Linked DNA regions of Homo sapiens: region 2 is linked to region 1. Evidence: promoter capture Hi-C in human tissues and cell types (Jung and others, 2019). All regions are on one chromosome and are shown on one strand. Each heading gives the region's core, a stretch centred on a gene start or on the middle of the fragment in contact. The rest is flanking DNA. Distances are from core to core; before and after follow the strand shown. Region 1 holds the start of SESN3 (sestrin 3). Region 2 has its middle 100 kb from the start of SESN3.

Evidence for each region. The method cuts DNA at HindIII sites, captures the fragments that hold promoters and counts their contacts. A contact is called where the count stands out against the background at its distance.
Region 2: a fragment that was not itself captured here is called in contact with the fragment with the promoter of SESN3 in region 1 in 3 of the 25 tissues and cell types used here (bladder, dorsolateral prefrontal cortex and hippocampus).

The regions. Positions count from the first base shown.
Region 1 is chr11:95,227,570-95,232,451 of GRCh38, forward strand. It overlaps SESN3 (sestrin 3), which reads right to left and starts at 3,633. Exons shown (of 10, transcript NM_144665.4): 1 at 3,214-3,633. The coding sequence starts at 3,291. LOC100129203 (a long non-coding RNA gene) reads left to right here and starts at 2,617. Exons shown (of 6, transcript NR_110295.2): 1 at 2,617-2,926; 2 at 3,556-4,004; 3 at 4,483-4,607. RefSeq lists silencers at 3,187-3,496, 3,507-3,656 and enhancers at 4,012-4,651, 4,652-4,882. The HindIII fragment of the contact is 13,238 bases long and covers 1,029-4,882 here.
Region 2 is chr11:95,332,393-95,337,337 of GRCh38, forward strand. No RefSeq gene overlaps it. Among named protein-coding and RNA genes, the nearest start is that of SESN3, 100 kb to the left of the region's middle. RefSeq lists an enhancer at 4,210-4,945. The HindIII fragment of the contact is 6,191 bases long and covers 1-4,945 here.

The sequences.
Region 1 (4,882 bases), core at 2,383-4,882:
ATATGATCATATAACAAAGTGAAAAGTGCAATAACAATACAAAGATATATCACTATAACTATCTTAACATTAAAAAAGTTTAAATGTTAGATCCTCTAAAGAGCACAAAACTATTCATTTAAGTAGCACTAACTGCTCAATACCCAAAGTACATTGGAATATGCCACTTTTTTATTTACTGGAAGATGAGTGGACTGATAATTACCTACCTTCCTCAATGCAGTTTGACACATGACTTTTCAAATTAAAGGATTATGTTCTTCTAGTTATCACTAGAATTTCTTCAAGTAAAAGATTAAACTTAAAAACTCGTTAACTTTACAAAATAAATAGAAGCATTTCCTCTTTTATTAAAAACTTTACTGAACTACCTCATTGACAATAGAGCAAGTTAGACTTAAGAGTTAGGGATTTCAGGATAGTTTTGATGGTTAATTTATTTATGGATATGGTTTACCTCTCCATTCTTTTTACTGTCCTAAGGTTACCAAATTAGGTACATTCAATATTTTAATAAGTCTCTTTATTTTGGAGGATACTAAATCAAAACCGTAAACGGACTTCTAAGAATAAATGTAATTCTCATACAATATATAATTCAATATTCAGGCATTGGGTTAAACCATATTATTTCATTTGAAGGTGAATTCCATTCCTTGTGAAGTTCCCCTAAAATTCAACACACTGCAACAAATTAAGCCACCTACTGAGAGAATAACACTTTCTGTCCCATATAAAGGTGACCCTTCTTCCATCATTATATAGAAATATAAAAGCAAAAGTAATTCACACTGGATGAGCATGAGTTTCATTCTTCCATTATGAATTAGACTGAACAAACATTCAAAATACTATGACTCACTTGGCTACATTACTGAACACTTTATTAAATGGAAAACAAGATAAACTCTAAGAATCACATTTTGAGAGTTATAGATGACTTTTAACTTAGAGTTATATCAACAAGAAAAACATGTCTTTATTAGAAATAAACTTTTCATTGTTATTTTAAGAATGATGAAACATTTAAAATGCTACATACTGATTCTCTTAAGAGCACTTCAAAGTGGCACTCTTTAAAAAGCTGCAAATGTTGCCAAGTCATGTTATAACTGGCTCAAAGAATCCTATTTCCATTAAGTTATTTCATGCCACTGCATGAATCAATATTAAATACCTTGGAGTTACTAAAAACTGGAATACTGGCAGAGATGTGCTCAGCAATTATAAAATACGAAAATGTGAATACTCTTTTTCCACGTTTCTTTTAATAATGGCTAGAAATGAGGATGTTCTTTCTAGGTAAACAGAAATAGTTTCCTAAAAGCTAAAGGAAAGATGTAATATCTTAAATGCTAGCAAAGTGTCATGGATCCATAGCCATAGCTCTCTCAAAAGAAAAATGAAATACATTTTGAAGCCTAATATTACCTCCAAACATTTTATTAGCCTAACAAATTGCCAGAGCCATTAAAAAATTTTTTTATCAAAGTCAATACAGTGCTCTTTTTCCTTATTCAATTAAAAAGCATAACTTGCTGTCATTTTAACCAGGCTGCACTTTAATCAAACATGTCTTAAATGACACATTTTTTCATGTCAAAGACATAACATAAATTTAAAAATTAAGAAATAAATTTTTTTGAAAGCTAAGTTCAGATGACATCTGGCCCTGCAGTGAAAGAGTTAACATCCAACTAAGCTGATCTGCACTTCTGATCCATTACATTTCTCACAAGCTACCCTACAATGAGCTGAGCAAGTATCAACTGTAATTTGATCCTAGAGTTTATGGAAAAAAATAACTGCACATACTCAACATGCACATTTAATAAAAATCTGTTTCAAGAGAAACATATCCAATAAACACAATTTAAGGCATATTTAACTGTTCAATTAACCTCAAATCTGCAATCCCTTTGCTCTCACGCTCTCAAATAAAATAGGAAGAAAAAAAAAAGCAGCAGCCCTACTGCAGGGAAAAGAGGCTTGAAAAACAACTTTGATTGGCACTTGGCCTGACCCACAGAGGAAGAAAAACAGTTTTTGGACAAAGAGCGCAAATATTTGAGCTTGCTTACTTATGTGCTTTTTTCTTTCTTCCTTTTTTAAAAAAAAATGTAGAAAGAACAATCCCAAAGTGAACCGTATTTAGAGATGTTGACTAAAAACGGTACCATATTCATCTCCGCTTTCAGTCCCGATGCATTTGCACAGCTCAGCAATTTTAATTCATTTGTAGTGAACAAACAGAAGCATCTCACCTAACGTTTCCACTTAATAAAATGTAAAAATAGAGTTTGAATACGAATAAACTGATTATAATATTACTTTGGGGCAGCTGTTAAAATCTGATCAAAAAGTCTAGAGACCTTTTTTTCATTCCCTTCCCCATCCCTCTCGCCCTTCCCCGCGGGGCGATTAAGCCAAGTAAGCTAAACAATACTGGAGTAAACTTTCTATCAGTCACTCTAGGAAGCAGCAATAAACTGATGGTGCGCCTCATTTTTCTGGATCAACACGGGGGCAGGGGGGTGCTAAGGAGGAATAACCCACATCCACCTCAGTCTTCTCCTCCCCCAACCCCAGCCTCAGGAACTGGCCAGGTCGAATTGCATTTCCCATGGGCATAAAGTTCAAGATGCTTTACTGGTTCCTTTCGAGACTGAACTACAGACACAGGACTACCATCCAAACAATTTGAAAACGGGGGTTGTTGAGCAAGGCGCGCAAGGCAGAAGCAACCGAATAAACAAAAACAACACTCGCAAGAGTTAGCCACAGCAAAGAGGGGCCAGGTTCCTCGGGATCCGACCCAGCTGCTCTGATTTCACACCGACCTCCATCAACAGCTAAACTGCACAGGGAGGAGGATCGAACGGATCCCTCCCGCCCTCCGCCCAAGGAGCCGACCCGGGGTAGCAAGGTAGGGAAATGAGCCGTAAAGGAGAGCAAAGGCACCAAATAAAAGGAACAAGGGAAGAAAAAATATCCCAACCCCTCCAGACTTGGGTCTGTCCCGGCGGAAATAAAAAGCCGCAGTAGTCCAAACCCTCCTGCCCTCAACCCACGCCCCCTTTCTCAGTCCCTGCGGAGGGACGGTGCCCGGGGATCCCTCTCAGCCTCCCCCAGTGCGCGCCCGGGGACGAGCCGCCCGAGCCCCGGCCGGCAGGAAGCGACCCTCGCCGGCAGGACCCCGGGCCGAACCCGTACCTTCCGCAGCACTTTCCGGCAGTTGGTACAGAGCAGGTAGTTGGCGGCGGCCGACGGGCTGCCGCCGCCCCGGTTCATCGTGGCTGCGGGCGCCGAGGCGAGAGCGGGCGGAGGGCCGGGTCCGGGCTGTCACTGCGGCCACTGCAGGGCCGGTCCGTCCCCCCGCCGCCAGCCGCGATTCCGCCTCAGCCTCCTCAAGGCGGGATGTCGGGAGGAGAGGCGACTGCCTGAAAGCTAGCGGCACTGCCAGAGGCGACCACCGCGGCAGCTGCCCCAGCGACGGCGGAGACGGCGGCGGCTGCTCCTCACCGGCCCGTTGTTCCACCCGCCCCCATCTTCCAGACCCCCGCCCCCGCCAGGCTAGGACGAGCAGCCGCCACCGCTGCCACCGCCACCACCGCCGCCGCAGCGCCTCAGTGCGGCCCCGCCTCCGCCGCCCCACCACCTTCACCACCTCCACGCTCCGGTACCGCCCCTCCCGCCAATCGGACAGCTCCGGCTACGCCCCCAGGGCGCTAGCCCGCAGCCAATGAGCAACGAGAGCCCGACTGGGAGTCGCGCCGGCCAATCGCAGGGGCCGAGGAAGCCTTGAATCTCCGGGCAAGTTAAGTTTATCTCCGAGGCTCGGAACTGAAGGGAGGTGGCGGTTAGCTAAGTAGTAGGGTAGCAGGGAACAGTTTGCTCTCCTCTGCCAATAAGAGGACGAGGGTGTGTCATATGCAAATATACTGCCCTCCAAGCCCCACCCCCAAGATAAGCTACGCCCCCTTCTCTAGGTCCCTGCAGAAGTGGTGAGGAGAATGAGATAAATAGTTGGGAGCTAGAGCTCGCTAGAGAGTCTAAGATTGAGCTAAATATTTCCTGATCTCTCGAGAAAGGGGGAGGGGAGTGGGAGGATTAAATGTTCCTTCCTTCAGGGCAGTGGTTAGGCTTTCTCTCCACCAAAATCTAACTTTAGCTGTAAAGAAGACTGCAGTTATGTAGTACTTTGTATCCAGGGATCTCAAAGAACTTTACGCATCATTTATTGTGAACCTTGTTTTGCAAAGATTTCAGTTACTTGAGGCTTGGGAGGCGGATAGGGGATAAATGTCTGAGTTATATATATATTTACGCAAGTAATCGAGTTTGAGGGGAGAGACACAAAACCTCTGGTTTAGCGGTTTCCTCTTGTTTGTGAAGCACCTTCTAGCAGTTATCTTAGAGATGTAAGTTCATTTACTTGTCCAGCACTAAAAGGCCAAAGGGGCTTGTTTTCTCACCCAAAAGACCTTCCTGAGGCAGCTGTTCGGATACATGCAGAGCACAGCGCCCTGCTCAGAAAGGAAGGTTCAGAGAACAAATTGTCGTTTAAAACTATTGGGACAAACCTACCTCTTCTAAAGCTTAAAATGGTAAGTCAGGGTTTTAGCGTCCACGTTCTGCGGAGAGAAGGCAGACTTGACTGGGGAAAGCGCAGGCTGACCGAGTGTGGCGGGACAGACGGGTAGGGGAGCCAGGTCTCCCGAAGGGGCTAGCAATGCGCGTCCGAGTCGAATGCGGGTTCCCGATGCTAGACGCCCGCAACCTGCTCCCGAGTGAGAACAAAGGCCGGCGCAGAGCGAGAACCTGATTGGTGCCCGGTCCTCACTCGTGTCCTCCGGGCCCCAGAGATAACTTGCATCGCCTA
Region 2 (4,945 bases), core at 1,726-4,225, 100 kb after region 1:
ATTTGGTCATGAGCCACTTTGGATTCTTGTCTGAGACCAGACCTGGCACATGCAGTGGGAGCATGTAGGGTTAGGTCAGGAGAGCAGTTGGGGTGCCGTAGGCCATGCCCCTGAAGCAAGGGTCTGTGGGCTGTCACCTTGGGGGAAATCCAACACTGAAGAGAAGGTGCCTCAACCAGGAGATTTACTTTCTGATAGACTAAAGGGTGCAGGAGCTGTGACTTCTCTTGTTTCTGATTTGCAAAAAAAAAAAAAAAAAAAAAAATTCTCCAGGCAGTAAGATTGTACCTAGTGCAGCAACTCCCTGGTGTCTTGGTAATCAAGGGGATAGCCCCAGGTCGGCCTAATTTTTTGCTCTTGCTCTTCCTAATTTCTCCTTCTCATCTCCATGACCACTTGCAGTGACTGTCTCTAGGTGGAAGCTGGAGAGATACTTAGGTAAGGTTCCAGCCAGGCAGATAAAAGTTTCATAAACATCAGCTTTTAAACAATTACCAGTGCCTCTTGCCTCACCTTGTGGGCTGGCCTCCTTTTTCTTAATTTTCCTCTTTTAGGTGGTTCCTGATTTCCATTTTCATTTACTCCTCTCACCATTTCCATGGTGGTATGTATGACTGGCTATTAGTAAGGGGGGGTGCAGTGCTCAGTGTATGGTTTGCTCTAGGCCCTAGAACCTGGCGGGGCATATACCCAGGAGCTGGATATTCCCATGTCTATGGCAAAACCCAGCTGTCTTCATTTTATCCCCTACCTGCTTCTGAATTAGGATCCCGTGGCCTTTGTTTGTTTTACCCCCTCACTTTTGCCAGCAAAACCTCGGTTATTTAAAATGCCTGGTGAATTAGGTGATTATAAGTGACATTTAGAGTTTAAAAGTGGTAGGTTTTAATCCAAGCTTCCCCCTTCCTTATCCCTGGTGTGCTTGAAAAGTGCACTTGACCTCTGAGTCTGAGTTTTCTCACCTGTTAAAATGAGGTAATAATGCCTATCCCACCTATTCACAGGAGCATTTTGAGAATCCGAGGGTTTAAAGTAAGTGAAAGCACTTTGTAAACTGTGAACCACTAAGCAAATGTTAGTGATTATGTTGAAGATGGTCATTAGTTTCTGGACCTGTGCAGAGAACATTGTACACAGACGATAAACTGAACAGGATTTAAATTAGCTAATTAAGTTGGAGCTTTAAAATGCTTTTAACTAAGTCATTCAGAAGCAGCAGGGCCCACATGCAGACATCTGAACCTCCACGCACATGAAGAGCCATGTGTGAAGGGCATTTCAGTTCTTGGGCTCTGTCAGCATTGATGACAACAAAGGCATGATGAGCTTAACTTTTATATTGATTCTGTTTGACTCTCTGGTGATGGGTTTCCATCTCTGGAGATCTGCCACAGGGCATCTGGCATCCCAGGGCATGTGGTTAGAACTATATTCTAAGGGTGATGGGAAGCCATTGGAAGGTTTAAAAACAGGAGTAACCTGATCTACTTGCCTATCTCTGAGGCTAGTTTTAGTGCTTTCTCATCAATTCTGTGAACTTCTCAATAGATTTCCAATAATCCTTTTTCTGCTTACTGGAGTTGGTATCTATTGTTTGCTTGCAGTCGACAGTGAAGAGACTGCTTGGTGCGGGGGTTTTCACTGTCAACCAGTGAGAAATGATGATGGCTTGGATTGAGTATGGTGGTGAAGATGGAAAGAAGTAAATGGAATGGATTTAAGATGGTGTTGGAGGAATAGGCACTAGAATTTCCTGGTGGTTCGTATATTAGTCAGCTAGGGCTGCCATAACAAAGTACCACAGATGGGGTGGCTTAAACAACAGAAATTTATTTTGTCACATTTCTGGAAACTAGAAGTCTAAGATTAAGGTGTTGGCAGGGTTGGTCTCTTCTAAGGCCTGTCTCCTTGGCTTCTAGATGGCCATCTTACTCTGGTGTCTTTGCATGGTCTTCCTGCTATGAGTGCACATGTCCGTGTTCAGATTTCCTCTTTCTCATCCTTCTTATAAAGACACATATCATATTGGATTAGGGCCCAATCTAATGACCTCATTGTAACCTAAGTATCTCTTTAAGACCTTATTGTCAAATATCATAATATTCTGAGGTAACTGGAGTTTAGGACTTCAACATATGAATTTCAAGGGGATATAATTCAGCCCATAACATGTGGTAAGAGGGAAAGAGAAATCAAAGAAACTTTGATAATTGGTTTGAAAACATTTGTTCATGTTTGTGTAAGCCCAGAAACAGTCTGGAAGGAAAGGCACTAAACTTTTATCGGAGCTGATCCAAGAAGTTGCCAGGAGTCATGGTGAGGGCAGGGGCTTCCTTTCATATTTTATACCCCCAAATATAATTTTTGTTGTACTTACTTCATATTTTGTATACAAAAACAGTGATTTCATTATGGATACTTAATTTTTATCTTCTGATATTGTAAATAGAATATAAAAAATGCTTTAAAAAGAAACTGGAAAATGTGGGGAGGTATTCAATTAAAGACAGAATTAGATTAATGGAAAATGTTTGGGTCCATTTAAAAGTCGAAGGAAAAAGTAGACTTTGTTGACTAAATTCAAAAAATGTTAATATTTTGAAGGGAAAAATGGGATGGAGAACATGGGGAGATTTTTATTGTGGAAATCGTCAAACCTTCCACTTTGGAGGAGAAGTTTTCACAGCCAAGTAGCAGAGCACTGTGTCTTCTTTGATAGCATTAATTACATCCTTTGGGGTCCACAGCTATCTAGAATTGAGACCAGCAGCTAGTAGGAGTTTACCTATATGGAATGAGGTGTCCCCGAGAGAGCTTGTGAGTGGGCTGTCCAATCTTGCTCCCTCTCTCTGGCAATTTGGCCTTGGGGAGGGGAGGGGAAATAGGCTTCCGCTGGTGGGAGCAAGTGGGGAGCACTACTTACCGAGGGCTGTGGAAAATGGTCAAGCTGCCAAACCAAGTGACCAAACAGCCAAGGTAGGCACAAGTGGCAGGATGAACAAGAGGCAGCTCAGGACCCTGAAGCAGGCCCGAAGCTGGTGAGCTATGGTCTTCAGTCATAGGTGGAAGTGTGTCTTGGATGGTGAAGACTTTTTGTTTTTTTTGAGATGGAGTCTTGCTCTGTCGCCCAGGCTGGAGTGTAGTGGCACAATCTTGGCTCTCTGCAACCTCTGCCTCCTAGGTTCAAGTGATTCTCCTCCCTCAGCCTCCCGAGTAGCTGGGACTAGAGGTGCATGCCACCACGCCTGGCTAATTTTTGTATTTTTAGTAGAGACAGAATTTCACCATGTTGGCCAGGCTGGTCTCAAATTCCTGGCCTCAAGTAATTTGCCCACCTGGGCCTCCTGAAGTGCTGTGATTACAGGTGTGAGCCACCACGCCCTGCCAGTGAAGACTTCTTGAGAGGAATGGACATCCTTTCTACTTCCCAGGGCGTCCCCTGAGACCCAGAGGCCCATGTTTTAAGGAAATAAAGACATAAGTCTGGTGGACTCTATTGAAGATTCACCCATCCATCTATCTGTAAGCAGACAGGGAGGATCTCCAGGGACTATAGGAATTTAATCAACTTGAGCAATCAGCCTGTTTTACAGCATCTTGTCTTGAAGCCTGTTTTGTCCCAAACCCTATGTGGAATGTGGTCACCCAGTTGGTTGACACCAGCTCCTGACAGACCCTGGCAAATTATAAATGAACCTGAGTGAACTTTCCTCATTACTATGCTAGAGTCCACCCCCCCACCAACCCCCTCAGGGGAGCTATAGCCTCATTACCATAACATGTGACCTATGTGCTGGTGTGATGACTCATTGCATCTGCACCACTGGTGGGACCCTTCCTCTACATGCGCTGACACTTCCTCTCTACTCTCCATTGCCCCGTAAAACCCTCCTGTCACTTTCCCTCAGGGAGACACTGCCTTGGAGAACACACCAGTGCTCTTCTTTTTTGTGACAAATAATAAAATGCTTATTGAGAAAAAACCTGTGTTCTCGTGGAGAGTTGTTACTTGCCAGGCAAATGAACCCCATTTTTTTCAGGTAATATAGTCAATCATGAATTTAGCAGTACCAGACCATAAACAAACTCTAACTACACCAACATCATTAATTCAAATTAGCTTTGGGGGAATGCTTGCGAAGAAAAGCATTTTCATGAATTTCCAATATGTAGGGTGATGAAAATGAAGCTAGAAGCACGTTACCAACTAGAGGTTCTTTGAGGGTCAGCTTTTAAGGAAAGATGACAATAATTTGTAAGTAGTATAAAAATGTTTACATGTAAATGGATGCTGCTATGGTTCTTACAATATGTTTCTTCAAGTAAGGTAAAAAATTTGGGCTGAGATTTTGTTTATTGTCCTCATTTACTTAGCAAACTTTTCTTCACAGATAGCATGAAGGTAACCTTCATCTCAGACAATGTCTGAAATCGCATATATTTTAAAATAATAGATTTCCTTTTCATAAGAATTGTTTCTATTAACCCTAGCCCAATAAGAAGAAAGGTATAGCAGTAGGAAGAAAAAAAAAATAATGCTTATTCTGGTATACGTAAAAATCATAATCTAAGTTGTCTGATGTTTCAAATTCTTTCAATTTGTCTTTACCACAGTGGATAAGTCAAAGTTAAGATCTAGAAGTCACTAGAATAAAATTATAAAGTTGAAAACATGACAGTACAGTTGCAAGGCTTCACTCCAGAAGCTTCATTTGAGTTACCGAGGGCAGTGGTGGTGGGAATCGTGTTCAGAAGGACATCCTTAAAGTTTCAGATCTTGCTGAAATAAAAATACCAGGCAGAGCTGGTTAACGGGTTAGCGTTCATCCCAGTGGCTCAAGTTCACCCTGATGATTAATTACAGTCTTGTTCGCCTGGTGTTAATAAGGCTTCCAAGAAGCCAGGCCCCTCCTCCCCACCAACCTCTGAAATTATTCTTCATTTT